Linked DNA regions of Homo sapiens: regions 2, 3 and 4 are each linked to region 1. Evidence: promoter capture Hi-C in 16 types of primary human blood cells and fetal thymus (Javierre and others, 2016). All regions are on one chromosome and are shown on one strand. The core of a region is centred on a gene start or on the middle of the fragment in contact, and the rest is flanking DNA. Distances in the headings are between cores, read along the strand shown.

Evidence for each region. Contacts are between HindIII fragments. The CHiCAGO score rates a contact against its expected background, and 5 or more counts as called.
Region 2: a contact is called between a fragment that was not itself captured here and the fragment with the promoter of ATOSA in region 1, in 8 of 17 cell types (naive CD8 T cells, non-activated CD4 T cells, total CD8 T cells and 5 more). The highest score is 7.0, in naive CD8 T cells.
Region 3: a contact is called between a fragment that was not itself captured here and the fragment with the promoter of ATOSA in region 1, in 3 of 17 cell types (M0 macrophages, M1 macrophages and M2 macrophages). The highest score is 7.6, in M0 macrophages.
Region 4: a contact is called between a fragment that was not itself captured here and the fragment with the promoter of ATOSA in region 1, in 2 of 17 cell types (neutrophils and activated CD4 T cells). The highest score is 6.4, in neutrophils.

The regions. Positions count from the first base shown.
Region 1 is chr15:52,675,435-52,683,116 of GRCh38, forward strand. It overlaps ATOSA (atos homolog A), which reads right to left and starts at 3,954. Exons shown (of 13, transcript NM_001385016.1): 1 at 3,394-3,954; 2 at 2,572-2,688. The coding sequence starts at 2,587. LOC105370821 (a long non-coding RNA gene) reads left to right here and starts at 4,171. Exons shown (of 4, transcript XR_932255.4): 1 at 4,171-4,259. RefSeq lists enhancers at 2,650-2,719, 2,850-2,989 and a silencer at 3,570-3,889. The HindIII fragment of the contact is 2,387 bases long and covers 2,214-4,600 here.
Region 2 is chr15:52,340,287-52,347,968 of GRCh38, forward strand. MYO5A (myosin VA) reads right to left here. Exons shown (of 42, transcript NM_001382347.1): 30 at 6,075-6,175; 31 at 2,831-2,911; 32 at 1-108. Among named protein-coding and RNA genes, the nearest start is that of MYO5C, 48 kb to the left of the region's middle. The HindIII fragment of the contact is 795 bases long and covers 2,682-3,476 here.
Region 3 is chr15:52,358,043-52,365,724 of GRCh38, forward strand. It overlaps MYO5A (myosin VA), which reads right to left. Exons shown (of 42, transcript NM_001382347.1): 24 at 6,512-6,660; 25 at 1,926-2,039. Among named protein-coding and RNA genes, the nearest start is that of MYO5C, 66 kb to the left of the region's middle. The HindIII fragment of the contact is 952 bases long and covers 2,372-3,323 here.
Region 4 is chr15:52,405,104-52,412,785 of GRCh38, forward strand. It overlaps MYO5A (myosin VA), which reads right to left. Exons shown (of 42, transcript NM_001382347.1): 6 at 5,230-5,373; 7 at 2,956-3,037; 8 at 2,189-2,296; 9 at 184-290. Among named protein-coding and RNA genes, the nearest start is that of MYO5C, 110 kb to the left of the region's middle. The HindIII fragment of the contact is 4,811 bases long and covers 166-4,976 here.

The sequences.
Region 1 (7,682 bases), core at 2,704-5,203:
ACTACCACACCCAATCATGTACGATAAGAGGCTATTGTATTTATTTAGAAACTTTAACTCTTTGAAGCACAGCTGTCTTTCACAAAACTATAATCTGAGTCTCTACATTAAAATCCACACTTTACTCACACTCTGAATGAGCATCTGAGAAGTTCTCCTATTTATGTTCATCTTATAGAAAACTTAGTGTTAGGCCGGGCGCGGTGGCTCACGCCTGTAATCCCAGCACACTGGGAGGCCGAGGCGGGCGGATCACGAGCTCAGGAGATCGAGACTATCCTGGCTTACACGGTGAAACCCTGTCTCTACTAAAAATACAAAAAATTAGCCGGGCGTGGAGGCGGGCGCCTGTAATCCCAGCTACCGAAGGCTGAGGCAGGAGAATGGCGTGAACCCGGGAGGCGGAGCTTGCAGTGAGCGGAGATTGCGCCACTGCACTCCAGCCTGGGCGACAGAGCGAGACTCCGTCTCAAAAAAAAAAAAGAAAAAGAAAAAAAAAGAGAGAAAACTTAGTGTTAAGTACGGTTATCTAATTATCTAGCTCAGAGACTAAAAGCAGGAAAATTAAAAGGTGACAAGGATAAATATATTAACAACAAAAACTGTTGACAGCCAGGGAACATAAAAATCAGAATAAAAAAAGATAGGCTGAGATGGTTTAAACTAGAGACAAAAAAATCTCAAACCAGAAGCGTGAACATTTTTTAAATGTCTCCACATATCATGATTACAACTAAAAATATTTTGACGTTTAAAAAGTTTCAATTATCCAGAAAATTCATTTATATAGGATAGTTCTTTGGACACCAATGTAGTTTAAAAAAAAAAATGAAGTGTAACTGTTTTCTCGTTAAGAGTTGTCCATAACTCTGCCTTTCAAATTGCAGGTCATCATGACCCATTAATTGGTGAAGAAATCAATTCAATGGGTGGTGACAGCAATTTTTCAAAACGTGAAATAGAATAGAAAATACAACATTACATTGCGCACAGTAAGGGTAAGTACGTTTGTGAAAAGCTTATTTCAATATTTCTGTACTAGTTTGCTAAGTAAAAGATTACTTACACTGGTTTTAGTAAAAGAAAAAAAAAGCCATGGGTCTAAAGGTTTATGTTATTATTATGGAATATAATCACAATACTAAACTCACAATCCCATCATCTTTACCTGAGAATGCTAAAGAAAGCTACAATTTTTAAGGTGAAAACTTCTTTGGAAATCTTGATGAATAAATTTGTTTCCCCTAAAAATCTATATCAGTACGTAACTAAACATTTTATTGTGTTTAACACTAGTTTTGGCTGCAAATACTATTTTTAAAACTGCTTATGACTGTAAAGCAACTTTTCACAACAATTCAAAATAAATAGTGACTTTGATTTTATTTGCTTGTTTATTCTGAGAATCAATTACTAACCTTGGTGCCATTTTTCCAAAGTGATTGATGTAATCTAAAAATCTAAACTTGGCATTCTACACAAGGAACCTGCTCAGGAGCAATACACTTACTAATACTTGATACATACATAGCTGCTGCCTGATTGTATGTAATAGCCAACACCTAAAACTAATTTAAATCACTAAATTAAGTATGGTTTTCTCCAATTCCTTCTGGTGCATTTCAATAGACCTATTTTACCCAGAAAATTTGTCTAATCACTTTGAAAAAATATATGGAAAAACAACCAGTTTAATATATATAAATTTTAAAATAAGCATCTAATTCGTAGGATAAATTAACATTTCCAATCCTAAAGACTTGGATTTGGAAGGAAATCTGTCATCTAGTCCAGCCCCCTACCAAATAAAATAATCCCCACTTCACAATGTTCCTTGGAATCAAACTCATATCTGACTGAAAAGCTCTCACTACTAACCACTACTATATTAACATCTTCTAAAATTGGTTCTTGCCATTAATCAGAAGACTGATAAAGAATTACCTTGAAGTCCTTGAAAAGCAGTGTATATATTATTCTTATAAATCCTGAAAATACAGGTTTAGAAAAGAAGTGACATTTACTTATCACCAGGGATTTCAGTGGCCCAAACTGTCCATATGCTGGTATATTGAATACTGGAGTACTCTGCAAACTTTTGGAGTTTGCTTAAAGCACAAAAATCAACTAATCAAAGTAGTAATAAAATAACAGTTGTCAACTCAAGCTTAAGTTTTCTCTTCATTTTATCAAGTTCACATTCAAGTTTAAAAAGCTTATGAACTTCTTGAAAGTTGAAGTTAGATTGACTACCTAAAAACGAGCAAGTACAACTCTAAAATGATACCTGTATTGTGGCAACAGATACAAATACCATTCTTTACTTTCATTTTGAGATACACTAGAATCTCTCTTGAAGCTAGTGCTTCAGAAGCACTTTTGTAAAAACGCTTAACCTTCTCTTCCATATGCCTTTCTCTACCTCACCAGCTGGAATCTGTCACAAAAACAGATAATCACATATGATACAGAAATAGTTGATCCTACTGCAGAATTAGGTTAACACTTCTAAATTGAGGCATAGAAAAGAAGGGGGTGGGGGAACAAGCCCTACTTAAACAAATCATTTACCTCGGTCTGGCTTCATTTTCACATCCAATTTTCGCCCAGAGTGCTGTGAAATGCACCTGTGGGTTCTTTCAACAGGCTCGCCGCTGATTCTACGGCTTCTGCTTCGCTTTCAAAATGCTGAAAGAGACAAAAATAAAATTAATCTGGCCCTATTCTAATACCCGGACCTTGCAAGTAAACTACTGTTAAGTTAGGCCTCTTCCTGGCACCAACTGCGGTGACAGCACCCTCGGCTGGTCTGAAAAAAGCAAAACTCTCTGCACCGCCTCCCCCATCTCCTCCGGATCGAGCACCCCCTTCCCTGCCTCTGTGCTCTCCAGGCCAATGTGTCCTTCTGACACAGTCTCTGAACCAAAACAGGATCTATTTATAACCTGGAGGTACAGGCAAGAAGAAGAAAAAGATTTGAGCAACACAAACTAACCCCTTCGTACAAAAACGCCTCTGGAAACAGAGGCACCTCCGCAGGGCTGGTATGGAAATTCTTCCACCTGGTGCCTGGGCGCAGCCAACTCTTCCAGTCCCCTGCGCCTCCCGAGCCCTCCGCCCGCCCCGCCGGGCCTCACCTGTGTAATTACCCTCTGGCTAGCCTTCCTGCGGCAACCGCGGCCAAGTTTACACAGAAACCCGAGTCACCTCCTCCCGCCCAGCCCCCAGCCCCAAACGAACTCTTCCGGGCTGTCCCGGGGCGACCCTACCAACTCCCAACCAGTCCTCCGCGGCCGGCTCCGGGGGAGGTGTTTACAGCCTGTGCTCGCCCCCTGCTCTGCACAACCCCTTCCGTCCCGCCGCGGCCCCGGATTTCCTTCAGCCCCGCCGCACCGAGCGCCGCGTCTGCCCCTCTCCCCGCTGGAGAGTTGTTTTCATGGCGCTCTCGAGCTGGCCGGCTCCTCCGCTCCCTCGGCCGACCTCTGCTGACTAACTCGCTCTCCTCTCCCGTCCCAATCCCGCCTCCTCTTGGCACTTCTCTCCACCGCTCGCCCAGCAGCTCACATCACACTCCCACCTCAGACCCCAGGCTCCGAGAGGCGCAGGGCCAGCGGGAGCGGAGTATGGAGCGCAGCGGCCCCCGCGGCTGCCTCAGGTGACCGTGGGGACCCGAGACGACCAGCCCGAAGCGGCTCCCCGGCGCCCCTGTGGCCATCCACCCGCGCCTCAGCCACCGCCTCGCTCCGCTCCCTGCGCTCAGCCCCTCCGCCCTGCCTGACTGGCACCCGAGCCCCGCGACCCCCGGGCTTCCCCCGCCCGTAGCCCCGGCCGGCCCTCTTGCCCAGCGCCTCTGCCAGCTCCTTGCCCGCCCGCTGTCTCTAGCTCTGGCGCCCCGGCTCCCCGTCCCCCTCGCTCGGCCAGTTCTTTCTCTGCTGTTTGCCCTGTCAAAACACTGCCTAGGTCACGTGTCCCAACAACAGCCAACCCACCCCGGTCGTCACTTCCTCCCCGGCGGCCTCCGCGGCCCTGGCGCCCGGTTACTATGGCAATGCCGCCGCTCGCCCCGGGGCGCTAGTTTGGGGCCGGGTTTTCGGTGCAGGTGCCCGGCGGGTGCGAGGGCGCTGGAGATGGCGGCTGGGAGACACCAGCAGAGTCCCGGAAGCCCGAGACGTCCCAGGCACTTCGGTTGCGCTCCCAGCCGGCAGAGGCGCGCCTGGATTCTGAGACCAGGAATCGGAGCTGCGCTATTAGAGCGCAGGGTAACTGGGGAGATGTCATCCAAAGGCCTGCCCCAGACGTGGAGGATAATTATAGTCGTCGTCTCCTCCTCCTCCTCCTCCTCCTCCTCCTCCTCCTCCTCCCCCCTCCCCCTCCTTCCCCCCCTCCTCCTCCTCCTCCTCCTCCTCCCGGGATGCTGGCACAGAGTTGTGATCGAGCCCCAAGTGGATTGCAGCGCATAATGGAACCCGGGTTTAATGTGACCGGGACGGGGGGTGGGCAGCTATGCGGGTCAGGGAGTGGGAGAATTTAAGAACAGGAAGCCCACCCCCACCCTAGATTTTCCCAAATCACTAAGGATTTTAGTAGGATTCAGAACCCAAGCTTCCAAGACACTCGCTGTGCTAAAAATAATCTTCATAACTTCTAAAACACTGACTCATGGGCAGGAGGACACTTTGACAGCATGTTATTGTTGGGGAGCTGTAATTTTGTTGTTGTGCTATAGCAATGTGACATGATGGCATTTCATGTTGTGATGTTGTCGTCATTTAAACACAAACAGATGACAGGAATCTGCTGTACTTAAAAAAAAACCCAATCCTAACAAGCGCTGCAGCTATTAGCTACTCAGTCTATAGACAAAGTACATATGGGGCATGAGCCCAAATGGAGACAAGTAAAAATTTGCAAGGCTCTTTGGTTTCATTAGAAAAAGTTTTTTTTTTAGATATAATTTTGCATAAAAGGATCACAGGAAAGTATTAGGACAAGTCTAAGGGGATTTTTTTTATTTGTGCCCTTCTGTTTTAAAATTTTTTTTACAATGAGTCTATTATTTTCACATCAGAAGAGTTTTATAAACTGCAAGATTGGCAGTTCCATTTTTTTGGCCTCAGGTAAAGTTCTTATGAAAAAGGCATGAAATATTTAAAAAGTAACATTTTCTAGTGCTTAGATATGTACAGTAAAATAACATGTACAACTGAAATTGTTAACCTTAACTCCACGATTGTATCTAATCAGAGCGGAGAGAACATTCAGGAGGGTAACATTTCATTTTCTCTGAAATGTTCTGGCATCATGACGATGAAACTGACAAATGGAAACAGTTCTTTAATCTATAAAATGCTACAAATGTTAAATCCCAGTGGATTTGACTTTGATATTATTGAATACTGTATTATGTAGTTTTTAAAAAATGAACTGAAGTTTTACTTGTTCTACAAGCACTTGGTAATGGGAGACAGAACAGTTACAGATAAGCCAAAAACCTAAATTTAGCACAACAGCTGGGACCAAATAACAGCTATTGTAAAAGGCTTACTGGGTGAACAGGCAGCAAAATCTGGTTTAGCTTCTTTCTTCCTCTATCTAATGCAAAAGAGGTAAAAAGACCAGGAAATGTTGAGAGCAGAAGCCAAGACTATTAGTGTGTAGCACAAACTATTCTCTTTTAAATAATTTTTAACAGCACTTGGGTAAATGATGATGTCAACATTTGTTAGACTAACCTGAAGTTTTTTTAAATTTAGAATCTTAAACCTGTTCAAAAATTTGAAATCATTATGGCAGCAGAAAAAGTATTTAAAAGGTGTATTTCTGACTCATTATTCAAATTGTTTCATTCCATAATATGCATTTACTGAATACTACCTGCTAGGCTCATACAAGTCTCTGAGAATGTAAAGGTCACCAAAACCAGATAGGGTCACTACTTTCAAGGAGCTTATAGTACTATTACAGTTACATGGCCCTAATCAAGTCACATTCTAACACCTTTGTTTCACCTATAAAAGTGAGGTGTTTAGACTCTGACAATAGTTATCGCTTTCTTTTATCCTATGATTATGTAACACATGTTCAGAGCGTTTGGAAATAATGACTTGAAATGGCAATTCACTCTAAGGTGCTCTGTTCACACCTCAGAGCACATAAACAGAACAAATGTTTCTAGTTCCTAGTTGGTGAAGGGTAAGGGTAAGCAAGGGAATCAAGATAGCTGGCAGGAACCTTACCCTCTTTTCATCTGATTTGCTTTCCATTTTGCTTTCCCCTAGGGTTTCAAAGCCGTATATGAGTAATTAACTTCAAAAAAAAGTTAACTCATCTTCAGCAACTCATCTTCATCCCCTCAACTTTTACAGATTTTGTTGAAATGGGTGGTGTATGATCAATCTGTAATGACTGTCTCTAAGTTCTTTTACTTATTAAGGTGATGAGGATAACTGGTTTGCTCACTTTATGAATACAAGGCTGTTACGATGACCAAAGTCATGGAACCAGTCCAGGCTACCAGGATGAGCTCCACCAGAGCAGGGATTGGTACCTTCTTCTTTCTTGTATCCCTAGCACTTAGTAAAGAACTGGATATAAAGTAGGAGCTCAATAAATATTAACCTATGTATTCTCTAATATGCTTTTCTTGTGCATGCCTGTAGTCTGCATGTCTAATACTGGCTGGCATTTTCTCCCTAGTGGGATAAAGGTAGAGTTGAGAAATTGGTGGGTAGCACAAATTTCATTTGTAAATGACACATTTTCATTATACTTTTGGGGCAATGTATATATTATATGTTGTCTCATAATAGTAGGAACCCATTGTGGGTTGAAATGTGTTCTCCCCTCAAAAAAAAAAAAATTGTGTTGCAGTCCTACTCCCATCCCCCATCTGTGAATGTGAACTTAGATATGTACAGTAATGAAGTTAAGATGAGGTGGATTATTAGGGTAGATTCCAAATCCAGTGACTAATGTCCTGATAAGAAGGAGAGGTTTGAAGGTAGAAGACACACAGGGAAGATGGCCATGTGACTAAGAAAAAGAATGGAGGTTCTGAATGGTTACTCAAACATGAAGATCTTTAATTCTGTAGAAGTTAACAGTAAATGAGTGAAAAATGTTAAGATATCTCTAGTATCTTAAAAGAACAACTCTATGACCCATAGCTAGAGGATAATCATGAATAAGTGGTTGAGAGTCAAATGAAGATACATTATTTTAAAGATGGTAATCAGTACATCTTATTTGCCATGAAATATTGTAGAAATAAAGATGAGTAGAATTAAAATGTATAAATAAATCTGTTCTTGCAAAGTTAAAAAGAAAAATGTACTTTTAGTACTTGTTGAAACAAGATGAAATGCAAGCTATCTTTTCCATATCTAAATTGTTTCTGATTATCCACTTAAATTCAGTACAGTTAATTTCTAAGAGAGAAAGATCATGGAGTCATTGCTAAGGCATTGGCTTCTGTAAACAACCTTCTACCTTCACATAAGTTGGTTGTCTGGTTTATTCTTTTTTGAGGTTCCTGTTTGTCTACCCTCTAAAACCACAGGTATAAGGAAGTAAAAATGTATTCTTTCTGGTCCCAGTCTGCGTAAGTGTCTTAGGGCTTAGAAATACAAGGGCCTCTAAACTTCAAGGTGGATAAACCTTTAATTAACCTGACAATTTTGCTG
Region 2 (7,682 bases), core at 1,829-4,328, 340 kb before region 1:
TGCTGCTGTCGGTTGTTCTCCTCCTTCAGGCTCTGGATCTCCCCACGGAGGGCCTCGGCCTCATTCTCATGGCTCCTCTTCTGTGACTGCAGCTGGGATTCCAGGAGCCTGCGGAGAGGACACATGGGTCGGAAGGGGAGACGACACCCCGAGTTGCTGCCTAACGGGTGTAAGGCATCGTGTTCACTTGCAAGAGTAGGAAAAGCAGATATTCTTTAGTATCTGTGTTATCTTCTGACTTGATTAAAGTCAAGAAACTAAAACAAGAAGCAGAAATAGAAACGGGTGCTCTCACATTTGTGTCTTTCTGCATTATATAAAGTTCTCAGAGGCCCTAAGAAACAGGAGAGTTTTAGTTCTCTTGAAAGGTTCATAGGAGGCCGGGTGTGGTGGCTCACGCCTGTAATCTCAGCACTTTGGGAGGCTGAGGCAGGCGGATCACCTGAGATGAGGAGTTTAAGACCAGCCTGGCCAACATAGCGAAACCCCATCTCTACTAAAAATACAAAAAATTAGTCAGGCGTGTTGGGGCATGCCTTTTGTCCCAGCTACTCAGGAGGCTGAGGCAGGAGAACTGGTTGAACCCAGGAGGCAAAGGTTGCAGTGAGCTGAGATTGCACCATTGCACTCCAGCCTGGGCAACAAACAAGAGCAAAACTTCGTCTCAAAAAAAAAAAAAGAGGGTCATAGGAAATGAGGATGTAAAAAAAAAAATCAATTGAAAAAAACAGCTTTAATTTGCCTTGCATTTGCATTTATAAATTAGCATTTAAATTGGCAAAGACAGTACACCTTTGCCACAAAACAACTCTGCACTATAAAGGCCAACATTATAAACTTCCAAATTAACTAAATGTGCCTTCAGAACTACAGTTACTAATTCCAGGCAGAGGGAATTATATTCTACTCCTATTCTGAAAGACAGAAAGGCTGGAACACCACTCCAGCCTTATATATACAGATTTACCCGAATCCACACAAATAGTTCTGAAATTTCCTATATATATTTTAGATCTGTCATCTTCTCTCTCCGCATAAACTTACATATCAGAAACAGAATCCTAACAAGATGTGGTTTTAGAACACAAATATTAATAGGACCAAAAAAGTGGTTATTGCTTTTCCAAGCAAACATACAGCCAGCTGTGCCCACAGAGCAGACCAGGCATTGGCAGTGAGAACACCAGAGTCAGAGCATCCTCCCTTTGCCACGCACCCCTGCTTCTACAGTCACTCTCTTCCAAATGCAAAGTTATGGTTAAGAACTAACTAATGTGAAGAAAGAAAAGACATTCTTTTATTCCAGTCCCTTGGTTGCCAACTGCTGGGTAAAACTTAATGATGCCATTGCAAGCAAACTGTTAACAGTGGACTAAAAATATTTAGTGATTAAAACATTTCAAAAAGATCTGCAGCAATAACACCCCAAAGTTAATGACAAGCGTTAATGATGAGAACAAAGCAGAATAAGCAGAAGCCCCTTGAACAAACATTTGAGTGTTTTAAAAATTTAATCACTAAAATAGAATTTTAATGAGATTTTAAAGACAAATATCACTAGAGCAGATGAATGTCTGTGTTAGAAAGGTGCTGCTGTTTCAATTTTATTTTCTCTCCTCTGAACATATTTAACGGGTTGAATTTGGGTAATTATTCTGAGCTATAGCAATGCAGAAAACTCTCCTGATTTGCTGTTTCACAAATGTGAATTTCATAATAACCACACAGAGTGCCAAATCATGCATTTCATCTTGCTTTTAGACAGCATGATAATAATATATAAGAAGGTAGGCTGGGCGCAGTACCTCAAATCTGTAATCCCAACACTTTGGGAGGCCGAGGCAGGATTGTTTGAGCCCAGGAGTTTGACACCAGCCTGGGCAACCAAGTGAAACCCTGTCTCTACAAAAAATAAAAAAATTAGCTGAGTGTGGTGGCACATGCTTGTGACAGTCCCAGTTACTCAGGAGGCTGAGGCAGGAGGATCGTTTGAGCCCAGGAGGTCAAGGCTGAATTAAGCCGTGATCATGCTACTGCACTCAAGCCTGGGTGACAGAGCAAGACCCTGTGTCAAAAAAAAGAAAAGAAAAATGTAGCCACATTGCCATAGACACATATATCCTGTAGATCTATCTATAGGATATGAGAAGCCACTGTCTCAGTAATAAATCTTAATCTCTCCCCCAATAGTTTGTGCCCTAATTGAAAGATTATGTTTTTCTTTTAACTCCTGGGAGAGAGAGATTCACAAATTTTAGTGTCTGAAGGGAAGTGTCTTATATTCACCACCATTCAATTTTAGCTTTAATAGTATCTTGTAGTGAAGGTTTTTAAAGAAGGTGTTTGGACCGGGTGTGGTGGCTGACGCCTGTAATCCCAATACTTTGAGAGGCTCAGGTGGGCGCATCACCTGAGGTCAGGAGTTCGAGACCAGCCTGGCCAACATGGTGAAACCCCGTCTCTACTAAAAATACAGAAAATTAGTCAGGCATGTTGGTGCACGCCTGTAATCCCAGCTACTCAGGAGGCTGAGGCAGGACAATTGCTTGAACCCAGGAGGCAGAGGTTGCAGTGAGCTGAGATCGCACCACTGCACTCCAGCCTAGGCAACAGAGTGAGACTCCGTCTAAAAAAGAAAAAAAAAAAAGGTGTTTGGCTGAATGTTCTCAGTTTTACTGAAAAGCTTTGAACAAATAACACAATTACTAACACTAATTTACCCAAGAAGACAATCAATGCACAAGAAATACAGGGGTGAAAGTCAGGAGGTCACTGTTAGTAAGAAAAACAACAAATTAATAACATTCCATTTTGAGGAGACAAATATAACCTGTTGGCTTGTTTTAACCCTTCATAAACCAGCCACAGCTCTCCATCCTCATTCAACTCATGGTAATCCAGAGCAGATGATCTTCCATGCAAAAGGAACAACAATGCAAAACACAAAAGGATACAGGATGCTGATGAGGTGACGATGGTCAACAGCAGCATGCAGTATTTCAACATTTTATAAGTTTGTTTTTATTCATTATGACAACTTTAAGACATTACCACAAAAATTATTTTTGGTTAATTTTTAAAAATGAGTAACATGTAGCATCACATGTAAATGGATAGAAATTAAAGCAAAATAATCAAGGATGTAGAGCTACTTTACCTGCAAAATAAGAAATGACTGGAAGGTGAGAAAGAGGTTCTGTTTTTGATGTTTTATTCAGCTAGCAAAGTGATCTAATACATCACATATTGTATTAGAGGTTATGACACATATAGAACAAAAACTTCAGCTACTGTCTTTGTGTGGCAAACTTCATAATATTTTTCAAGATGAATTTTTAAGTCCTCTAGGTAGGAACGTTTTTAGCTTAATAAAACCTAATTTCCCACATTAAAAAACCAGTTTTAAAAATTCTTATAGCAGTAACATAAATCAGAACATGTCCAAGGTTCTCAGCTTTTATGACATGATTTTTAAAAGCTTTTTTGTGTCAAAAATTAATTGTATGCCTGGAAAAACTGCTATATTAGAGATGTATCACATCTTATTAAAAACGTATAATTAGTAATGATAATGTTAGTAATCATTTATTTTCCACTTAGAATATAAAAATAATATTTTTTGAGTGTTTGCTCAGTGTCAGATGCTGTTCTACATTCTTTCCACATGTACTAATTCAGTTTCCCCAGTAACCCAACAAGTCATTTGCCACATTGCAGAGGAAGACGCAGAGGCTTGGAAGTAAGATACCCATAGAGGTTACACAGCTGGTAAGTAGTGGATCCCAGCACTGACTCTGGAGTCCAGGTTCTTACTCCTGCTATATTGTTGTTATGTTTACATAACCCAAATTCCAGGCATTGTCTTCTACTTTACATCTAGAGAGTTCATATCTCTCTAGAGAATTCACCTATTTACACGGTTTCCATTGTATTATTATACTCTGATGACTTCAAAATTTCTATCTCAGTACACACATCTCTCCTGTCTACAGATTTATATACTCAACTGCCTAATAGATTTCTTTCTCTGGATGTTTTCCTGGCTCCTTAAATCCATATGTATAAATCTACTGATCATCTTCACTGTGCATTTCCCCACACTCCAGTCCCACGATCACAAAACGGTATCACCACACCTAACCAAGATAGCAGAAACCACGGAGTCACCTTCAGGCTTCTCCATCCCTCGCCCACACATTCAATAAACCAAACAGCTTTCTGACTTCGTCTTCTTATGTATCTTTCAAAACGTCCCATTTCTGTCAATCCTAACTGCCACCAGCCAAGCCCAAGTCACCATAATCACTGGGTTACAGGAATACTCTCTGGCCTTTATGCTTCCAATTTTGTTCTACTGCAGTCTATTCTCTAACATAACAGCCAGGGCTAGCTTTCCAAAAATCAAATCTCATCACACCATTCTCCTACTTAACACCTTTCAGAGGATTCCATTATCTTTGGAATAAAGTCCAAACCCTCTCAGCTGTCTCCCCAGCAGCCTATAATCTCAGTGAGAGTAGGAACCGCATTTATCTTGCTTATTACTGTATTCCCAGTATGTGGCACAAGGCCTGGCATGAAGTAGGCACACTGGTGATAGAATAGCTAAGTGGATGGAAGAACATTGTGATACAATACAGTTCTTTCTATATTAACACATTCTTAGATATAACATATGTTTATAATTTAAACTGATAAATTAAAATTTAAGTATAACCAAATACTTTTATAAGCATTCTCCACCCTTGTCCATAAAAGAAGATAAGAAGCACAGTCATCCTTCAATATCCATTGGGTTCCAGGTCCTCCCTTGGATAGCAAGATCCACAGACGTTCGAATCCCTTATATAAAATTTGCATACTATTTGCATATAACCATGTACATCCTCCGTACACTTTAAATCATCTCTAGATTACTTATAATACCTAAAAACTTGTAATATGTAATCTCTAGACTACTTATAATACTCTGTAAATAACTGTTACACTGTATTGTTTAAGAAATAATGATAGGGCCGGGCGCAGTGGCTCATGCCTGTAATCCTAGCACGTTGGGAGGCCGAAGCGGGTGGATCACCTGAGGCCTGGAGCTCGGGACGACCCTGGCCAACATGGTGAAACCCCATCTCTACTAAAAAAAATACAAAAATTAGTCGGGTGTGGTGGTGGGCACCTATAATCCCAGCTACTCGAGAGGCTGAGGCAGGAGAATCGCTTGAACCTGGGGGGCGGAGGTTGCAGTGAGCTGAGATTGCTCCACTTCACTCCAGCCTAGGCGAAAGAGGGAAACTCCATTTCAAAAAAAAAAAAAAGAAAGATAAAGAAAAGAAATAAGAAAAAAGTCTGTACATGTTCAGTACAAATGTAATTTAAAAAATATTTTCCATCCTCCATTGGTTGACTCCACAGATAGGGATCCAATGGATATTGAGGGCTGACTGCACCTTTCTTTTTGTATGGCAATATTCTTCAGTTTATAAAGTATGTATGTTTACCAATCCTGAAACTATCCATCAAGAGCCCCAGACCAATAGACTTTGCTGGGAAGGAGGGTGGTAGTAAGGCCAAGGGGAATTCCAGATATGAGCCTTCATTCTTCTATCCTAGAAGTCATGGTGCCCTTTTAGAGTTACATGGCCAACACTGAGTGATTCCAGATACCTCATCACTTCTTTTCACTCTTAAGTTTCAAATATTGAAAACTGCAGTTGCCCCTACAAACCTTCACAAATAACCATCCTGAATAACAAATGAAAGTGACTACCTAAGATTGTATGACCTGAGCAGGTAGTTTTCTTCTCAAGGCAGCCCCTTAAAGCTAAGACATTAAATATTTTTAAAATCTTGCTTTGATTTAAAGCACATTTTCCCTGACACCTTTTGTCAATACTATTACCTTATATTATAATGAAGATCTTAACTAGAAATACACTGGAAACCTTGGATTCCCTTTGAAGGCCAGTTAATGTCTAATATAAAGGAATGTATGAACACTTTTACTGTACAAGAGGCTGGCTTGAAGGCTAAAGATCAATATAATTAAACCAAAATGAATAAAAGAAGGATCAACTTACCTATTTGTTTCTTTCAAACCAATGTATGCTTGTGCTATTTCACCTTTATCTTTCATTTTTTGTACATCTTCCAAAAGTATTGTGGAATCTGTCATTGTATTCTGAGAGGGAAATAACACATTTACGCATTAAGATTCAACTCAAAAGCTTTGGACATAAAACACATTTATTTGGTATAACTGGGGGGCAGTGGTTATGTGCTCCACCATACCTGTGACCCACCAAAGCATCAGCCCCAACCTCATGTAACTGCAGAGGGGAGTTTGGCCCAGGTAGTTGAGAAGAGGTACCTTCAGTTTTTCTCCTGAGAAACACTAGCACTCTGCTACAAAGGTGGGAAGATTCTACAATGTCACGGCCCTGTAAATAAAATCACTGATGGGCCATATATGTGTTTTACATTATGTGAAAAAAAATATATATATATTTTATAAAGTATATAATATAGTATATACAGCATTAGAAAAATAACCAGGCACCTATTTAATGGAATGTACAAAGCCATTCTTTCTACTACTTCATGACTAGTTACAATGAGCAGATGCCCCAAAACACTGAAAGTCTGACATAAAGTTCACTTTTTCATTAAAAACTCAGAAAAAGAAGGTAGTATTCAGATTATATGCTTCAGCAAAATTAAGTTTTTTTTCTCACATTCAGTTCTCTTTTCCTCTAGTATAACATAACATAGTACTTAAGCTTTTGAAATAAACATCTGGCAGGTCAGAATTATTAATTATTTTATATAAGAATAACTTTTTTCCAACATTTTAATTTTCTTTTTAATTTTCTCCGTTTAGTCAAATCTGTCTGACAAGCAATGTAATTTCAAAATCTTCTCCTATTCAGCTACTCTATCTTTCTAGACAAGAGTAAGAGATAAGAATCACTGCTGGCAAACCACAATGGAACATAGTTCCACACATGGAACTATGTAACAAACCTGTATATTCAGTACATGTATCCCAAAACTTAAAGCAAAAAAAGAAACCCTGCTGTGTAGCCTCTAAAAAACAATATACTTCAGAACCCAGTGGCTTTGTCTAAATGGAAACATTTCCACATAAAATTCAACTCAAAAGCTTTTGGACCACATATTTGTCTAAATAGTATATGTCTGATTCTTTAGTAAACATGATCTAAGCTCAGGCCTTGCAATGAAACAGACTTAATAAAATACACTTCAAATACCATGATCTTAAAGACAAGTTCCAAGATAACTTTAATGCCAATCAGAGACTTACAAATGCTTGTTTCTGAATTTCAATGTGTATTTTAAAAATCCTTAAAAAAAATACCACTTTTCTCTTAATGCTATCCTTTTGTAAGTTTATAAATGCTTCCTCTGAGAAGACCAACTATAATCTCATGAAATATACTAATAAATAGTTTACATTTTATTGAATTTTAAAAATCTTTCCCATTAAAACCACAGAGTATTTTTTTTAGCTATGTTTTGTAAATATTTTAGTACCTGTTTTACAAAGAGGTTCTTTTTTCTCTTTCTCTGAAAGGAATAAAATCTTTCTGTTTTATAAAGGGCCATACTCAGATTTTTAAAACCCATAAGTAATAACTTTCAAAGACCCAAGTGTTTACATCAAATAA
Region 3 (7,682 bases), core at 1,598-4,097, 320 kb before region 1:
GAACAGGGATCATCAGTCAAGGGCTCCTAGAAGAGGTGCACACCAAGCAGGAGGAGCACTGGTTCCAAAGCAATGTCATCCCAGCCCATGAAGATCGGCAAGCGTGGGAGGGCTGCAAAACAAGTGGGACTGGCAGGCGAATTCTCCACAGAGCTACAGACTGGTTTCCGGCAAGCACACCCTTTTTATCATGGCTTCCCCCTACCAGCAGAGCTGCTAAAGTGGTACTACACTGGAATGGGCAGCTTGTAAATGTACTTCCCTCCGACTATTGCAAGTGAGTACTCCCACTGAGATCAACAGGATGTAATCCTAAAACCTTCCTATCTACTGAAGGCTCAGAAGTCCTAATTTTTAAATCTTCAAAGTCTAACTTTGTGGTATTCTCCAAAGATGGCACCAATGATTCTTCTCAACATACAAGTATTTCCTCCCAACAAGAGATGGAATCTATCCCCTTTGCCTTGAATCTGGGCTGACCTTGTGATTTTCTTTGATCAGAATGCAGCAGAACTAACACTGGGCCAGTTCTGGGCCTAGCTCTAAGAGGCCTGGCATCTTTTAGTCTGTCACTCTTAGAACCCACCTACCTGCTGCTGAACAGAGGCTACATGGAGAGGCCCAGGGAAGAGAAGCAAGCACTCTACAGAATGCAGCTACATGAGGCACTCCGACCACCACCACATGGAACAGAAGAACTCCCCAGTCAAATCCCACAGAATTATGAGTAATAATAAATTACTGTTTTTTAAAAAAAAAACACTAAAACTTGAGATCATTTATTACATAGCAATAGATAACTGGAAAAACCTCTATCCTGCTATATCCTGGCCATACTGTTATATCCATGGGCCCCAGCCAATGTTAGCTATAGATAGAAAAGGGATTGGAGAGTTGCAGTACAGAATCCCTGGATGGAAGTCAGTAGAATATAATGGCTTAAGAACATGAATTCTAAAGAGACAAGCCTCAGTTAGTATGCTGGATCTACCATTTATAAGCTGTGAACCTGGACAAATTACTTAGCCTTCTTGTATGTATGATTCCAATGATATGACATTCCAACTATGTAACATTTTTCTTCAAAATTAACAGAATGAGATGGCAGAAACTTCATTCTTAAGTAGAACTAAGACAAGAAAGGAAAGAATCACTCAATTTCTCTAGCTATTCTACCAGAAGCAGTCTATTTCTGATTTGGCCATTTTCAAAAAATATAATATAAAAATAGGACAGTTGTGCCTGAATTACCCATTATTGAAACTATATCATATTTTAAAAGATCTTAGAATTGGTTGGGAATAATCTAACTAAAAGTCACTATACTCTTGGAGTTACAGTAATACATCATTTTGGTTTCATACCACAAAACACAAAACATTAAAGCAGATTTCTAAACTATTTTCCATGCATTTTGTAGAAGAAAGTTACATTGGTAAAAACTGGCATAAAATAGAGGCATCAGTTTTGCTAAACTCTGGGGCACTGGTGTTTATAATATTCAAGGACAAAGGGCTTACTTTAAAAATAATTTACCTCTGTCTACAGCGGTGGTCCACAGATATAAAGTAAATAAATAATAAGTAAAAATAAAATAATTTACCTCAGTCTGAAATAAATTCCTGTAAACATATCATGTTAGGGGTAAAGAGAATTATAAAAATAAAATCTCACCATCAAAATTGCATTAAAAATTAAAATTAAAATTTGTATTGACAAAAAAATGCAATAGGTATGTATGTACACAGCACTTAAGTATACAAAAATGTAAATAAGTTTGTATCTACAAGTCACTTATGAAGAATAAATGATTCAAACAAATACTATGTTTATGGCCAATTGGAGTCTGCTTTGCAATGGAAATGTTCCTTGTTAACAACAGCATGCTCATATCCTACTTTCAGTGACAGATGTCTAAACTGTACCTCTGTCCTTGATGGAATGTCTTCCATTTCTGCAATTTCAGAGCTAAAGATATATTCAGACTCGTTGCTGCTGTGGGTGGAGTCTGTTCTCTTGTGTCCAGGCTTAGGCACATGCTGCAAGGCAAATAACCCAGGTATAATTAATGCAACATAATTAGTCTAGGCATAGTTAAGACAGCATCCACCTTGACTTGGTTCTTATCCCTACTTCCTGACTTGTATTGGTGCCCAAGTGATTTGTTCCATATTGTTTTGACCAAATAATTACAAAAAGGTCACCGCTTCAAAGAAAAAGGTACACTGGCATGACAGGACAAGAACAGTTGCAAAACCAAATGCCCAAATGAAAACCACTTCTGATTATTAGTCGAGTCCCCTTTGGGTGTTGAAAGCTTTGAGCGGTCAGTCACACTGGGTGAAGCAGTGCTCAGTGAAGCACTGGGTGAAGCTTCCAAGCACTGACTTTTAGTGCCATAATCAAATAAAACTTACAAAAACCTCATAAAATATATTGAAATGGCATGCACAATCATTTTACTGCATGGTAACTAGGCATAAATGGTTTAAAAGAAAGATGAAGGAGTTCACACAGGCAGCTCTAACTTCTGTCACTTTAATACGTGAAGTTAAATCTTTGGAGTGAGCAGTGGGCAGGATGGACAGTACACGGGAGGTAAGAAAGCTGCTCTAGTAATCCTCTGAAGAGCCCTCGGTTATTACCTCAGGGCATCCAGGTGGCATTTTTATGACATGTAATACCTAGGAAATTAGTGTTGAGAAAGTTCAAGAGGAATAGAAAAGTTTAGCAACGACACACCCTTCCCTCCTGTAGGAGAAGGGGTTAGAGAATAACTTGAGGGAAGAAGGAATTAAAAGGCTGGGCTCTTAGCATGTCCCCAGCAGGAGAGGTGGAAAAGATCCAGTGGCTTAATCTTGCAGTGTTACAGTCCTGAGGGCTTCACAAAGGCCTCTGAGAGCTTTCTCATCTGTCCAGTTTTCTTTGTACCTTTCCCCAGCTGCTGGAAAAGAGCTAGAAGCCACAAAGAGCTTCTTTGTCTCTTCCCTTCCAACACCCAGGCTTATGGAGAGCAGACTCATCCAGAGGCACGTAAAAGTCTCCCAGGCCAACCCAACCTGTACTGCAATGTGAAGGGAAGATCCAAGAACACCAGCACCTCTGAAACGATCCAGAAGCTGGGGTGCACACTAAAGGGGACAATCATCACACATGAAGTCAAAGGCACTCAAATTCACTGTCTGTTTACAGACACAGGCACTCTTGCTTAAAGTTTCCAGCCCAAGCCCACAGTTGTAGGAATGGCATTTATTTAATAAACTGGTTGTATCACTAAGAAAACCAGGTAGTCCAGATAAACACCAGGACAAAGATTTTTAATAAGCTTATTAAAAATGAGAGAGATCCCTGTCTTCCCACATATGTCTATCATTATACAAGGAATACCTTAAGGCATTAATAGAAGCAACATTGCTTTTTGCTATTTAATGTAACTTTTGGATACAGGGCAGTGATTAAGTGCTCTGGATCTGAAACGAGAGAGAGTTAGGCAGGAATACCAGCTCTTCCACTAGCTGGTATTTTCATCATCAGGAAAAAAAGGGTACTAATTTCTATCTCATAGGGTCTGTGTGAGGATTAAATAAGAGTGTGGAAGTAAAGAGTTTGGCTTGGCATAACAAGCATTCAATGAATGTTAACTTCTGCTGCTGTGATTGTTAGGAGATTGCAGTGATTCAGCAACTTCCTTGTTGGTAACTTTTCAGTTCTCTGTTTTTAGGATTTTGTTCCCCCGTTTATACGTTTTTCAATTACAAGGATATATATTTGACTGGATCATCACGTTCTCCTTCAAGATCTGCACCTCCCTCCTCTTCTGCTCCTGATTTCTCCCATGATTCCTTCTTTTCCAGAACATGTTTTATCCCTTTGTCAAGACTAACGACCCCATGATTGACATGCTGGTTTCCCTCCCCTCTCTGGAATTAATTTATCTTTAAACACTTCATAAACCTGGATGCCCATGCCTCATGATCTTTTCATCATTGGCTTGAAACTCCTTAGCCCTGGATTGGTCCTTCCTCTTTGCCTCTGCCCCTATATTCCCTGGACAACCGAATGTTCTTGGAGAAAAATGCTACAGTACTTCTTGTACTAGGGCCAACAACTCTAGAGGCTGGCAATGAGTGACACTATTAGTGTTCTTTGGCCCATGTATCACATAGGTTATGGGAAGCGCTGGAGGCAGTGTATCAAGTCCCCTCCCTAGAGTTTCCTCCATTCATATGACGACTCTGTTTACAACCAAATGCTTCATTAGCTCTGGATTGAAGCAGTGAGAGTGTCATTTACAGAACAGCGTCAGTCTAATATTAGTCAAGTACTCATCTGTTAGCTGTTTAGTTGTACCTAAACATTAAAATAAGATATTGTCACTAATATTTTAATTGTCATGGGTTAAAAGATCAAGTTTTTTATTCTCTGCAATTCTGGGCAAATATTTTCTGCAAAAACTGTCATCTTGATTATATCTGGAGCTAGGAAAAGGAGATCTAGTGAAGAAATGAGTGGGAAGCAAGTGAGCTCTGATCTCCCTTCCTCTGCTTTCTCCTTTTCCCTTCCTCTGACCATTTTGTCTCCCAAGAGGAATGACTGAGTCACAGGCATACAATGGAGAGGACACATGACTGAGAAATAAGAAATTGAGCAACTAAAACTACCTCTAGAGCACTGCTGGGAACAGATGGAGAGCAGGCAGACTTGCTTAGCAGGAAGGAGGAGCCGTGTCAAGCTGCTGGAGGAGGCGTCACTGGAGGACCTTTCTAGAAATGGCCACCTCCTCGACTAAAGAGACCCATGACCTCCTCACAGATGGATATCTCTGGAATATGCTCAGAGAGGGATACATGTATGGCACCTGCTTCTCTCATTTTATTTTCTGAAATTCATATTGCATGCACCATTAAAGAATCCAAGAAATTCTCCAGAAAAGACATTTGTTTATCTCTGTTTAACCTAGTAGATTACCACATTTATTTTACCTAAGAATTTCTTTTCCAATCCCACTTATTAACATCCCAAATAACTAGGGGGTCTCAGAAACACCTACTGGGTTATAAAGCTTAGCTCTAACCATAACTGAAACAGAGATTAACCATAAATGTTGGCATTGTCATCTAATAAATAGAGTGAACAAAAACACACCAAAGAATGGAACTGGGGAACATGAACACTGAAAAAGAAGAAAAGGATTCAAGAGAAAGCTAAGAATTACAGAATGTGAAGGAAGAAAGGTTTCAATGGGACCAACGGTAGCACGGTGATCTAGGAAGATGAAGCTTAACAAGGGTCTTTAGATTTGTCAATTATAAGAACAGTTATAATGGTGACTTGCATCTACTTCTAATTTCTCTTTGTCACACATAAATCAGAGTAGTGAGGGTTGAAATAATGGTCCAATGTGGGATTTATATTAGCTTTTTGGTCTCTTTTAGACAGGATTTTCTCATCTGCAAGGTGATGAGAGCCTATCTTTTGTATTACACAATCTCTTTTATTTTGACTTTTAAGTGTCATATTGTAATGAACTTTGTCAGTAGGTCCAGATAGAAGCAAAATTTGAAGAAAATACTCTGCTCCACAGATACTGAATTATCTGGCTTTTTATGAGATATTTCAGGGCATTTCTGGTCATTTGTATAATTAGGTTACCTTTAAGGCTGGTACTTGTAGGGATGCTTGGGAACTCTTTGTTTCCTGATAGCAGGATACATGGAATGGGGAGGATGTGCAGAATTATTACAAGTATGAAAGGTACATTGGCAAATGCAGAAGAGTCCTTGAAATAGATAATTCATTACAAATGGAGTCTGAATTTTCTTTTCATAGGAATATATCTTCAAAATTATAATCAAAACCAGTCTACATGTAAATTTTACATTAGGCCATTCAATATATAAAACAAAGTCCAACTGGCCGGGCGCAATGGCTCATGCCTGTAATCCCAGCACTTTGGGAGGCCAAGGTGGGTAGATCATGAGGTCAAGAGATCGAGACCATCCTGGCCAACATGGTGAAACCCCATTTCTACTAAAAATACAAAAAATTAGCTGGGCATGGTGGTGGGCACCTGTAGTCCCAGCTACTCGGGAGGCTGAGGCAGGAGAATCACTTGAACCTGGGAGGCGGAGGTTGCAGTGAGCCGAGATTGTGCCACTACACTCCAGCCTGGTGACACAGGGAGACTCCATCTCAAAAAAAAAAACAAAAACAAAAACAAAAATCCAACTTTACTGACTTTATACTATCACATAGCCCAGTCTTTAAACTGTTTGACTTTACCGAAGTACTTGTGAATAAAATTATATGATTTCTAAGATTTGCTTTAAAATAATCCAATCCATTGGATGGAGTGGGTTGGGGAGATGGAATGGGAGGTGAATATGTGTTGAACATTCTGGAACTGGGTGGTAGGTACACAGAAGATATGGAGGTTCATTCTACTATTCTATTTACTTTTGTATATGTTTAAAATTTTTCATTAAAAAAAAAACAAAAGTGTTTGACTCACCACCATAAGGGTCATCTCTTCCTTGAGGTCATCATATCTTTCTTCCAGGCGACTGAACTCATTCAGAAGGTTCTGATATCTCAGCCTTTCATCATTAAGGTCGAGTTCCAGTTGTTTCGTTTCTTCTACTAACTTCTTCTCCATAGTTTCTGAAATTAAAAAAAGGATATGCATACTAAAGATGGCCCCTTGAGAATGCAATTGTGTAAACATGTATACTGATTTCCAGTTTCTCTGTAGGCAATTTTACTTTTAGTATCACTGTGATCCATGAAGAGTGTCTTAGTAAAATTTAGGAAAAGAAAAAATGACCAAAAAATGAAATAATTTATTAATAATAACAATCATCTACTGAGTTATTCCATGTACTCTGGCCTTAGTACCACTAATTGATACACTGGTTACAGCACATCCTTGAAAAACTTCCACTAGTCAGTCACTGTCTAGTAACTAAAGTGTACATATTTTTATTCCAATGGTATTCTATTCATAAAATTATTTTGCCCAAAGTAGTGTACTCTCTCAAAATGACCTCCTCACAGATATTTCTCAAGAGAGATATTTCTCAAGAGAATGGCAACTTTTCAGTGGACCCGGTTGTCCTACTCTACAGAGTCTCTCTTAATTTACCATCTCACAGTTCTGTCTTACGTTTTCTACGACTTTAACCTCCCCTGCTGTCCTATTACTTCCCAGCTTCTAACCAGATAAAATGCTCGGGCCTGGCCAGCTGTGTTGTGTGCTTGTTGGTCATCCCCACGCGCTGCTGAGGAAACCTTGCCTTCTCCATTTACCTACACCCTCAGCCCTCTTTGTGGCTGTGGTTTGCTTTTGGCTAGGACATGATCTGGAGATTGGAGATTAGCCCTTGACTGCAGATGAAGTAAAGTAACAAAACCTCAAATCTCAGCTGTATGTCTTAACTCAATCAGCCAACCAGTCACATTTATAATATTAAGCTTCTACCACTTTGCTCCATGTTACCCATATATTTTGAGGCTAAATCTTAATCTGCCCTGCCTGCTTCTATTGCTTCACCACTGCTTTCTCTGTGAGCACGATGAGGCAAGGGCTACAAGTGTCTTGTCACAGCTGCTTTCCTGGTGCCCACCACAGTGCTTCCCTAGAGTAGGGCTTTAATAATTTGTAAATGAATGAATGAAAGAATTTC
Region 4 (7,682 bases), core at 1,321-3,820, 270 kb before region 1:
GAGATTAGAATCCATATTTCTTTATTCTCAGTTTGAGATTCTCCTTTGGATAACATATGTCTTTGATAATTATGTTTCTGATAATATTGATAGAGAGACTTAAACTATATTGCTTCTTTAAACAATCTACAAATCTAAAACATAATTCAACTGCCATCCCACTAAAGCTTATTCTGAACTTACAGGTATTGTGCAGCTGTCTGCATCTCGGGATGTAAATCCAACATTGCCTAAGTGAAGGATGCCAGCAAGTATTCGGAAAATTCCCATTTGATGAGATTCACTAATTCCTGAAACAAGAGAGTGAATGAACAAGTGATTAATTTCAGAATAGAAACTAAACAATTACAGCAGACAATTTTAAGCCTATTGTTAATTCCTGAATATTGCCAGATGTTGTGCATATTATAATGTGTCATAGCTAACAACACTTTCATCTTTGTTGACATTAACACATTAGGCAGTTTAGCATCATGGATGGATAACATGGCTGCTGACTGTGGCTGATCTGGCTTGAGACCTGGCTCTGCTATGGACCTATCATCTCAAATGGACAGGTAGCTTCAGTATTCTATGCTTCCATTTTCTCATTTGAGATATGAAAATAATAGTGACTACTTCAAAGTATGTGAAGATTAAATGAGATTAAATGCACATAGCATACTTAATACACGACATGACACACAGTAAGTGCTAAACAAATTGTTGTCATCATTGTCACACACTGGGTTTAAAATTAATAGTATTACCATTTCTATTTATCTCTGCTCCAGATACAGCCCAATAAAGCTGTTACTTCTTAAGGCTGTTTAAAAAGTAATTATTTAATTACTTCTTTAAACTACAGACCAAGTATAAGTCAAAGAGACGCCAAGATTAGAAGCGTTTAGGCTGGTGCTATATCCCAGCCTGATGAGTATGCGTCCAAATACAGCATCAGAGCAGAACTTGAAGGATAAGGCAGGATGAGAAAGCTGGACAGCTTTCAGCTTTTATCAGATCTGGCTTCATTTTTAAATAACATAAGAATCTCCAGAAAATTAGCTATAATTACATGCAAATAGAAGCAGTGAAATTATTTCCAAATATGTAATCTTAGAAAGGGTAATTCAGTAATGACCCTATAATTAATGTTTTTTACCATCTCCTGCATTATGGCTTTTTCTTTTTTGTTTTTTTGACACACAGTCTCACTCTGTCACCCAGGCTGGAGTGCAGTGGTGTGATCTCAGCTCACTGCAAACTTTGTATGGCTTTTTCAAATTCACAAATTTACTATTTACAAACAGATTTAGCACGAGAAGAAATGCAGTGATTTTCAAACTTTTAATATGCATATGAATCACCAATAGATTTTGATAAAATGCAGATTATGTTTCAGTAGGTCTGAGAAGGGATTTGAGATTCTGCATTTCTAGCAAGGCCCACAATGGTCCTGGTCCACACTGTAATTAGCAGTGCTTTTAAATTAAGTTAACTCACCTGAGGGTACTACTCAAAATGCCATCATATGATTTTAGAGTTATCTATATTCTGAGGTTTTTTTTTTCTTTAAGTTGTAGATGACAAGTTCTAAAGATTAATTTATTCACATGAAGGCCCAACATTTTTTAAATCCCAGAAACAAGATAGTGACATCTGAGCTGCTTCAGAAATGTTGGAACAGAAAAAAAATGCTGGAATAAACTACATGTAATGGAATATTCTGTCATGATGCCAACTCAGCCACATTTCCCAGCCACAGAAAGATCCCCAAAACCAAACAAATAAACCAATAGCTCCTACAAAATGCGAGCTTGTAGAGGAGCCCGTTTCACTTAGCTTCAGGTTTCAGATTTTGTAAAAATTTAAGCAAAGAATTACAAGTAGCCCTCCCCTGATGCCCCAAATATATATTTTGAACAGTTTTATTGAAGGCTAATTTGCATACCATAAAATTCACCCATTCAATGATTTTTAGTAAATTTACAAAGTTGCACAACCATTACCACAATCTAATTCTAGAACAGTTCCATCATCCCAAAAAGAAATCTCCTGCCCATTTGCTGTCTAAATGTGTTCTATGTGGAATATTAAATCTTCTAGCAATACTTGCCACTTAATAAAAAGTCAAGCCAATATTCTAAACAAAGGTTGCTTGAGTAAAAAAGCTATTCCTCTTAAGAGCTCAAGAATAAAGTGACATTACCTAGCAAAGTGCAGGCCTGCCTAGTATGTGCCATCTCCTTTGCATCATCCACTCCTTCAATCACAGGACTGCCTCCTTGTTTTGTGTAATTAAAGTTATCTGCATTTCCTGTAATGAAGAAAAATAAAAATTTTCTGGTTTATGAAAAAGCCTTGCCTTCTAACCTTATGTCCACTCTGAATCAGAGGTGGTGATAGCACAGTTGAGTGTACAGCATCTAGAGTTTGACTGCCTGTGTTTTCAATTGTATTTTAATAAAAAATTAAAAATTAAATAAAATTTAATTAAATAAATGGGGTAAAATATTTATAGTTTATTTATGTTAATTGGTAAAATAAATAGTCCTTTCCTAAAGGTTTTATTCCAATCTACACACTAGAATAATTTCCTCAAATCCTTTACTCCCCTCATAAGAAACCCTACTGGCTTCTAACAAATCAACTCCTTTAATTTTTTTTTTCCTTTAATCAAAGCAAATATCAAACACATACAAAAGTAGAGAGACTAATAGAATGAGCCCCTAGGTACTCATTACTCATCTTAAACAGCCATCTAAAATCACCTCCAGGCCAATCCTGTTCCATTTATACAGCCACTTACTCCTCCTCTACCCCTATGGGTTATTTTGAAGCCAAGGGCTGACTTTTTATCATATTATCCATAAGTATTCCAACATGAGATAAGCTCCTTTTTAACAAGTAAATTTAGGAACTTGGAAATTAACAGAAAACAATACCAGAACAATAAATTTAATGCCATATTCATACCTAATCGTAGCATTTTAAATTCAGGTAACTTTGCTGAGGCACAAAGCTGATAGAAGATATGATAGTTTCTCTCCTCTTCTGCCTTCGAAATAAGAAGAGTTTTCAATTACAGCATTTTAATCTAAAATTCAGGGAATTCTATCATAAAATAAGATTTTAATATTTAATTATCTCAGTTGGTTAAATAAATTATACTTTCCTATATTTCCTAATACTTATTTCTGATTATTAAATCTTATGATTTATAGTCTATATGCATATGTATGAGTATGTGTGTGTTGCTCAAATTCAACATAAAGTATCGGATAGTAATGCTTTCTGAACTAGTGAACAGCTTGATATATGTCAACAATCATAAGATAATCAGTGCTTTTGGGGGAAACTAAAATCATTTTTTTTTTGCAATACTCAATACTATTTTCTAATGGTACCTCTTAGATTCACAGTCTTCCAAATGCTTTGAAAAAAGAATAATCCCATTCTTGCCATATTGTAGACTGGACCATCTACTGTGGTTATTTGTAGGAAAGTCACAAATGTACATCTTCTATATCATTTTAGTTTATACATTTTAAATCAATAACTGTTTTATAAAATAGAAAATAAATCACATATAAATTCTAAGATAATTTTTCAGTATTTCCTGAGAGTCTTTTCCACACATATATCTAAAAAATACAGTTGCAATAATATTGTTCATACACCTAATAGTTTATCACTATATCCTTCATTTTTACAGTATACTCAGTTGGCTAATGAATCGTATTAATAAGGCCAAGGTCAGGTTTGATGCCCACAGGGGGCTGATGTCTGGAAAAGAAAACCTATTATAGGGACAGAAGCCACTGAACAAATTACCAGTATACCAATGACCACAAGCATGATTAAACAGGAGACCAGGTGGTTCAGCACACAGAAACTAGAAAAGCCTGTGAGTCTGCAGAAATGCTTAGGTCCTCTTTGTACATAAAGGACAATACAAGTATGCCTTTTCTGATTGTGTGACTCATTTTGACAAGCCAAACATCCTTGACATTCTATATCACTGGAGACTGGGAAACTGCTAGAAATGGTTCAGTGTCTCTAAACAAGACAATAAGGATTGGGCTTTACCATTTTGTATTAAGCACTACTAGCCTTTGGTCACGTACTGACCAAGGACCATCTTTCCCCCCTGCTTACTCACTTACCTATCAATCAAACCTCTACTATTTGAACTCTAATATTTGAATCTTCCCTTAGATCTACCTCTGTTTCACCCATTCTTTCTTCTGGTTATCAAAGTAGACACTTTTCAAAAAAAACCTATAGAAATAGCCATCAGCATAGTAACACTGTTCTGTATGTACCTAGATATTAAATATAATACTTCATTTGTATTGCCTTACTATGCAAATCAAGTACTATATTTTAGGTGGCCACAAATCAGGCACAGCCCCAAAGTCAAAGCCAGAGCAACTTCAGACTGCTCAAATTCTCAGACACTTTCAAACCTATGACAGACCTGGGCTATGGAAATTGTGGACACTGTTACATGGCAGTGTCAAGGGTATTTGAACCTCAATGCAGTGGGCATGCAGTTGAGGCTAATGAAACCCAAATCTCACAGCATGAGGCAAGCAGTAGGTCTACAGAACTGACAGTGTGTGATAAACCCATACCTATAAATATATAAATGTATGCCTGCTAGTGATGGAAATATATAGTATCTCCCATATCTCCCACTTACCAATCAAAAGGGACCAAGAGCATATATGTGGATGTAAACCCTACCCAGATGCATCAACTGTTTTTTTGATAGTAGTTCACAATTGGGTTGTGAAGATTTTTTTTTAACCCTCACTATTCTATCTAAACAATAATATATTCTGAAAGAGGAGAAGAAGGAAGGAAAGAGGACAAGATAATTTTTTTTCTTGCACTGAGTTCAAACTAACTTATTGAGAGCATGGAACAATGCCTTCCCTATCATTTGGAAATATGAGAGACAAGACTAAACCAATAGCACCTGTTCTCAACTAAGCTTTCCCGCAAGCACCTGTAGGAAAAAGTCAAACCTAAAAGTGACCAGTCCCAAAAACTATTAGCATTTAAGTGGTACTCCCTTGCCTCTAACAGGCACCATTTTACAGGCTTCAGTCCAAGTGTGGTTGGAGGTAATATTGTCATAATATGCTCAAGAGTATCTTGAAATAAAATGCATACCAGCAAGCATGGACTCAACAATTATACAGCAATCTAACACAAGTGCATATGTGTATATGGCCAGCTTACCTGGAATACCACTCTGGATTTCTCTAAAAGATAAGTTCTCATATTGGCACCAATGATTCGATATCTCTTATCAAAACCAATCTCAATATACTTCCCAAAACGGCTGCTATTATCATTCCTGGTTGTTTTAGCATTTCCAATGGACTAAAAAGCAAGGGAGAAAATAAGATTTTAGAAGTGTAATTCATAACATGACATTTACAGAATCTGCTCAGAGAGAGAAAAGATGGAGTAGAACACAGGTCCTTAAAATTGATTTTTTTTTTTTTTTTTGAGACAGAGTCTTGCTCTGTCACTAGGCTGGAGTGCAGTGGCACAATCTCGGCTCCCTGCAACCTCCGCCTCCCAGGTTCAAGTGATTCTCCTGCCTCAGCCTCTGGGATTACAGGCACATGCCACCACGCCCAGCTAATTTTTGTATTTTTAGCAGAGACGGGGTTTCACCATGTTGGCCAGGCTAGTCTCGAGCTCCTGACCTTGTGATCCACCCACCTCTGCCTCCCAAAGTGCTGGGATTACAGGCGTGAGCCACCACACCTGGCCAAAACTGATTCTTTTAAGAACAGAACCACTTTTGCCACTGCAGGCACAGGTGTATGCTTTGCTCACTGCACAGTCACACAGATATATACTAATTGTTTTTATTTGTCTTGTTATTCTCACAAAAATGATTTTCAGAAACAGCAGACCTGAACTCAGAGGTTAGAATATTTTCATAAAACCTTTTGGGTTATCTGAACATTCATGCCAGCAAAGAAAGAGAACAAACGAGGATGGGAGCTGCCAAGGCATAGGCTTTGTTAGGTAAGCTTCAGGTTTTTATTTTTTTCCAAAAAACTTCACCTGCTTTACATAAATAAGATGGTTAAGACCAATGAATATTTCCTGGAAATGCTGCTCTGGTGTTCAGGGTCTCTTTAGCCTGATGTTTCTATCACCTTATCCTGTGGCAACAAAGGTCCAGTTAGACTATTTATTAGTAGAGTATTAGTATTACCCACTCAATTTAAAGGCCATTTTCAGAACCAGAAAAAGTAAAATTTGGCTTTGGATTTTGATAGTTAAATCTAGCTTACAAAATATCTGCTACAGAATACAGAGAATATAACTTGCTGCTAAATGTTTTATATAACCTTAAAAATTTTAATGACATATGTCTTTCTGATTTAGGTAACTCGCTTCTATAAATTTTTTTAAGGCAAAGCAAAAAAAAAAAAGATGTAGTTAGAAAACCAAGTGTTTACATAATGCATATATTAAATGTTTAATAAGCAAATTTCAAAAAAATTAATATCTTTCACTTGTGTAAAGCCTATGTCAGGATTAGTAAATTGAAACCACAGCAGACAGAAAGATGTGAAAATACAATGTAGTTTTAAGAGTGATACAAATGTAAGTAATGAAAACAATAGTAACACAGCCATACAAGTCAACACATTAGATTCTTTGATCAATCAAAGAAAATATATTTTCACTTTCTGAAATAGAGTGTAGACATCCTATTTTGTTTTGGCAGTGAGGACACTGCTATATTTTAGATTAACATTTTAAATGCTTTTCTAGAAAAATAAGAATATCTTCCTGGCAAAATTACAGAAGGATCTAATGTAGCCTCAGATAATTTATCTATTCATTTACTCAGATGTTACCCCTCTTGATATTACAAAACACCACAGCAAAAAGTCTGTATATGGTCTCACTATTTTATTTAGAAAAGCAGATTAATTATAAATGCAGACTTTTCTCTCAACACAATATATTCTTCCGAAGAGCAAATGAAAGATTACATGTAGTAGAAGTAGCAGCAGCTACTCAATAAACACTCAATAAATATTAGTAACTGTCCTAAGCACTTTCCTGCCAGTAACTAAGCAAGTGGAGGAAGGGTGGGCCACAGCTTCTCCTCCTTCCTCAACTCTTACCCCACCTTCCACATATCATCTCTCCCCACCTACTCAGACTGGGCGTCAGAGTGGCCCACCTGCCGAAACACCACCACACTGTGAGAAGAGGCAGGGATTGGCTAGAATTGAAGCAGATCCTTTTGTTTTCAAATAAAATGTATTTAAACATAGACAAACAATGGTAAAAAGAACAAATGAATTAGAAGCCCGAAGACCTATCAGACCAGGCCCTATTATCAACTTGTCATTATTTAATCTCTTTGAGGAGCATTAGTATCCTCAAATGTAAATTGACTAGGATAGTGGAGCTCTAGGGTTCTTTTTAAAAAATAAAATTATTTGATTCTAAGTTCTGAAACTGATAGGGAAAGAAATTTCTATACATAAACAGTATCTTTTGTCCACTCCCTCAATTGTTGCCTCTGCCATATAAGCACTGTATTCACAAGAGACTCCCTAATACTATATTCACTTTAATCAGCAAGAAGCCACTAAAGGAAAAAATAAATTTTGTGATCTTGGTAATCTTGGTTTTACTGTTTTAATGTA